Linked DNA regions of Homo sapiens: region 1 is linked to region 2. Evidence: promoter capture Hi-C in 16 types of primary human blood cells and fetal thymus (Javierre and others, 2016). All regions are on one chromosome and are shown on one strand. The core of a region is centred on a gene start or on the middle of the fragment in contact, and the rest is flanking DNA. Distances in the headings are between cores, read along the strand shown.

Region 1 (2,700 bases), core at 61-2,560, 2.4 Mb before region 2:
GAACTACTTAGGGCATCTTTCTTCAGGACATGACTGTATGCATAGCAGAGACCTGCAAGGGGCACCTCCTCTGCTTACCCTCCCACCAACAACCACAAAGAGTAGGAGAGAGTCTGTTTCCTAAAGAAGGGTCATGGCTATTTGGCAGAGTAGGGAGAGATACTTGGCAGACAAAACAATATTTGTTCACTCCATTCCTTGTGTTAGTTACCCAGCACATATATATATCATTCTTCTCATCCATAATTTCAAAACTCTTTCACCTAATAAACTAACCTTGTAAGTAAAGAGTGTGAGGTGCTCAACCAATTGATCGGTGATATTAGGGAGTGGCTGTAAAGTCATTTTAAATCTCATCCTAGTCATAGAAAATGAAAGTGAAATTATTCTTCAGAAAGTCTGCCCTCAAAATGCTAAAACCAGAAATTGATTTGTATGTGGTGTCTGCATACCTGTGTATACCTCCTCCTCCTTTCCAAATCTATTTTTCTCTTCTTCCCTACACTTCCATACACAAGTTTCGTGCCCTACACTGCCTCTCCTTCTCTATTCTTGCTACCGGGAACACAGATATAGTAATGACTCAGGTTCCAATGTGCAGAGCCCAGCAGAGCAACCAGATTGCAGGAAACTGCAACCCTGTATTGCTTGGTAAAGTACTGCCTATCCAACCCAGACTGCCTCACTACACATTTAAATTAGAGAGAAATAAACTTCTACCTTATTTAAGCCACTGAATTTTTTCTGTCTTGCTTTAAAGCTGCATACTCTACCTAATACAATATATAAGGTATTATATACCTACACATATATATATATATATATATGTATGTATGTATGGTATTGTATTCTGTTAACTAAGTTGATAGGCAGAGAATCTCATGAAAGCCTATCTAGATCAATTTAAAAATCATAAATAAATTAATTCATTTGCCCTTAAAGGATATGATGTCAACATTTATGGATACCTGAGAAATGTCAAATGCGTTGATATTACAAGGCTCATGTTTGCACCATTATGCTTTTGATTAACACCAGTGCAACTGTGCTCAAAGTTGTAAAGATCATGGTGTAGTCAGAAACATTAGGAGGGAATATAAACTAAGAAGTTAAGTGCATAGACTCAGGAGTAGAATTGTCCAAGTTCATATCCTAGCTCCCTTACTTGTTAATGACGTAACCTAAAGTGAATTAATTAAGTTACTTAACCTCTGTGGCTCCAGTTTCATCTGTAAGATAGGGATAATAATAGTCCCTAACTTGTTAGGTTGTTGTGAGCATTAAGAGCATTAAATGAGATAATCTCCTGTTAGGTATTTAGCACAAAGTAACCATTCAATTTATATATCTATCAAAGTAACCATTCAATTTATGTATCTATATATAAAATAATTATGTATGTATAGTGCAATAATAATTATAATAAATTATTGATAAATTATTTGTTAATAATTCTTACTAATAACAATTAATAAGTATTATCTCTGAGTCTTCATCAGAAAAAGCAGTATGCAGGAAGAGCAGCTTATTCTACATATAACGATAATTATTGAAATTCAATGCTTGCACATACAAAATAGCAAACTCTGGACTTTACTTTGGATATTAAAAAGACAAAGGTATTTTTGCTATACTGCCCAAATGTCTCCAATGATATGCCCACTAGTATGCCTAAATAGCACAGCAGTAAAACTAATGTCTTAACTTTTGTTCTGAAAGCACCTTATTTCAAAACATTATCCTTCCTCATTGGTGGGAGATTATCAGTGTTGATTTTCAACAGTTTTGTGAAAGGATAATGGAGTCGTGATCACAATTAAGTAGGTAAATTCATTTCCTTGAATCATATGTTCTCTGTGATAGCATTTATTTCCATTGGATTACTTATTCTTGGTCTGGTATGCACAGGTGTTTCCCTAATAAACATTTTTCAACATGATTTTATAGTGTTTCTTATGCCAGATGAGACTCCTACATTTTTTCCAGGTACAGGCTTAAAATGTTGTGCCAAAAAACCTTAAGTAAGCAACATGGGCTGGGAGCGGTGGCTCACGCCTGTAATCCCAGCACTTTGGGAGGCCAAGACAGGCAGACCACAAGGTCAAGAAATCAAGACCATCCTGGCCAACATGGTGAAACCCCGTCTCTACTAAAAATACAAAAATTAACTGGGCATGGTGGTGCATACCTGTAATCCCAGCTATTGGGGAGGCTGAGGCAGGAGAATCGCTTGAACCTGGGAGGCGGAGGTTGCAGTGAGCTGAGATCACGCCACTGCACTCCAGCCTGGAGACAGAGCAAGACTCTATCTCAAAAAAAAAAAAAAAAAAAAAAGCAACTGGCTTACACCATTTAGTTCCATATCCCTGTTAGAGTGTTTGCCCCAATATGTTATGAGCAGCTGCTTAAATGCTTAAATGTCTGACATTCCATAGACTATGAGCCCCTCAAGGGCAAGCAGTATTTCTTGTCTCTGAATCCTCAGTGTTTTAAGAAGTGTGTTGCATTTGGTAGGTATTCAATAAATGTTTGAAATGAATAAGAGTAAATAGGCACAGTGGCTTATGCCCATAATCCCAGCACTTTGGGAGGTCGAGGCAGGCAGATCACCTGAGGTCAGGAGTTCAAGGCCAGCCTAGCTAACATGGTGAAACCCGTGTCTACTAAAAATACAAAAATTAGCCATGTGTGGTGGTGGGC
Region 2 (2,700 bases), core at 151-2,650:
AACTATACTTAATCTTTCAACGTTGCAAATCAGGTAGGCTTTAGCATGCTACTAAACATGTCAAACCACTTTTCACAAACATCTTTTACGCTAGATTGCACTTTGCAGATCTTAAAATTGCAAAAAAAAAAGACTTGTTTCCAATAACAATCTATGCACAGAATTTTCACTACAAAGGATATCTTCATCTCCTCTACGATAGTCAAATATTTTCCTAAACCTTACACTTAATCTTGAGTATTTCCTCCAGGCCTTATTTTCCTCTATGCAGTGTCTGGAATCTTAAATATAGGTATTGTAGATACCACTTAAGAACTTTCTTTCTACCAAGGTATATACAATATGTACTGGGAGGTTCCTAGCAGAGATAGGGTAGCTATTTTTAAAAGCACGAACGGTAAAGGGGTTGTTTTACACAATTAAGTTAGAATTGGAGATGTTTGAGAGTCATACAGATTAAGTAACGGATCTAGTTTAGTTAAGGTATTTTAAAGGCAAAGCCTTACCTAAAAAGCTTTCGTTATTACTTTTAATCAAGTTAAAAATCACAAAAGAAACTTGCCATATCAAAAGTTTTATATCCTGTCTAAATAAGGCGATGGTTATTAGCAGGGGGTGTGGTAGACAGAAGGGATGAAAGCAAAGACAGACCACAGCGCGAGATGACGGTCTCAATCTGTACAGTACTCGTGTAAGCGCTCTGGATTTAAAGAACCTAGCATATTTGATCTCCGTCCATAATTCTCCAATTAGTCCTGCTGCGAAGACAGCCAGGTAGGATACTAGTCAGTGCCGGCCTCTCCAGGGTAAGTGAGGAAGAGAATGGCCTGGACAAGGAGGACGTCAACGGTATCACGCTGCACAAAGAACTGCTGTCAATTTTCTTGTGTCCTTACGTTGAGCCAGGCTTTTAGCTATTGTAAAAGCTTTATTTGCACATCACTTAATCTACACAATTTTGCAAAGTAGGAAATTAGGGTCTCCATGGAAGCCGGAACATCTGAAAGCGCAGATCGAGTGGCTGAACGGCGAAAAGCGCGGCGAGTGGGACTCCACGGCCCGAGCTTTCGGCCACCGAATTTAGAATGATACTGAAAACCGAAGGGAAGTCAAACAGGGATCACTACGCCCTTGTTTCGCACCTTAAAACCTACTTCTTCCTCTTTCAGGGACTCCAGGAAGGCCGGGGGGAGGTGGGGCTGGCGGAAGTGGACGCGGCGACCCTCCTGCCGCAGGCGCGTCCAGAACGATACCTTGGCCACTACTTCTGCAACAGCTATCTTCCTCCTCCTCACATTTCAAGGCTCTTCGAAGCTCTCCAGCCACGGCTAGCCCCGCGCACTGGGCCCTCCAGGACCGTACCACCGTCCGCCGTCGCCTGGAACTACCGCCGCCACATTCGAAATTTTCCGCCTCGCTCCTCCATTGGTTGGCTGGGAGGCGGTCACGTGGCGCAGGATGCACCCAACACCACCGTCGCAGGCAGAGTCCCGCCCCGCCAGGCGACGTCACGTGACGCACATTCGCTCAAGTCCACATCCGGGCATCCACCTGGCCCTGGGGCGGAGCCTGCGGTCGGGTCTCGGCGACCCGCCGGGACTTTCTAATCAGAGTCGTGGGGATTTTACGGGTGGAGTTACTCCGAAACCTTTAAGGCCGAGTGTGATAGGTAGTTCAAAGCTTCCTGTTTCTTCAGTCTGACAGCTTCAAATGTCCCGGGTTGTGCTCAAAGCCTCCCTCTTGTGAGAAGAATCTCTTTGGTTGCCTGTTAAAGCGGTCAGCCAGCTTGCAACACGGAAGCAGCTTTTAGAGGAATTAAAACCAAAACAAGGAGCAAATTCTGGATTAAAAAGGTATTAGGGAAACTGCAGATACCTGAAAATTCTAGCTCCATGTTTCTCTTTGCCGGCTATCTCTGGCTCTTTAACTCTTCTCGAGAAATGGCACCAACATCCATCCAGTTACCGACTAGAAGCCTGAGAAATCGTCCTTAATGATTATTTATCCTCTCTTAACCTTTGCCCGTCCAGTCGGTCACACGATCTTCTCAACTCTGCTTTCCAAGTTTCTCTCATGCCCATCTTTTTCCCCCCAATCCAGCTTCCAGCCTAATCTCATTCCCTAAATTGCACTAGTACCCACTCTGACCGCAGACTCCACTCCCTATATTCTTCATAGATTAATATTTTTACAAAACAAGTATCAAATAGGAAACTTTACAATGGCTCCCTATTGCATTTAAGGTGAATTTCAAACTCCTTTAAGATATTTTGTCCTTAAAGAGCCCCATGATTCCTGGTTCCATCACTTGTACATTTTCTTTAATTTTCTTAAAATTCTTGCCACTTTTGCCAATGCTGTTCTGTCAAGAACACTCTTTCCCTTGGCCGAACTTACTCCTATGTATACTGAAGTTTCACTGTACAGATGAATTCTTCCAGAAAGACTTATCTACCCCTAAAGCCCCTGAGTGTCTGCTTTACACTTTCTTAGTGCCCTGCATTTTCCCCTTGGTATTCCTTGTGACACTGACTTGTCGTTCATTGCCTGTTTCTTGAAGTTGAATAAGGGCAGGAACTACATCTGCTTTGTTCATAGCTAAATTGTCAGCATCTCGTTGCAATTTGAAGTAAGTAGTAAATATTCACTGGGACAATAAAGGAACAAATAAATGAAAACGAAACAAATGTTTTGAATCTA

Evidence for each region. Contacts are between HindIII fragments. The CHiCAGO score rates a contact against its expected background, and 5 or more counts as called.
Region 1: a contact is called between a fragment that was not itself captured here and the fragment with the promoter of SGO1 in region 2, in 2 of 17 cell types (total CD4 T cells and non-activated CD4 T cells). The highest score is 7.7, in total CD4 T cells.

Annotation. Positions count from the first base shown.
Region 1 is chr3:17,749,498-17,752,197 of GRCh38, forward strand. No RefSeq gene overlaps it. Among named protein-coding and RNA genes, the nearest start is that of TBC1D5, 8.2 kb to the left of the region's middle. The HindIII fragment of the contact is 6,255 bases long and covers 1-2,700 here.
Region 2 is chr3:20,184,806-20,187,505 of GRCh38, forward strand. It overlaps SGO1 (shugoshin 1), which reads right to left and starts at 1,401. Exons shown (of 8, transcript NM_001199251.3): 1 at 1,143-1,401. SGO1-AS1 (SGO1 antisense RNA 1) reads left to right here. Exons shown (of 4, transcript NR_132785.1): 4 at 1,170-1,310. RefSeq lists enhancers at 1,119-1,798, 1,819-1,878. The HindIII fragment of the contact is 754 bases long and covers 925-1,678 here.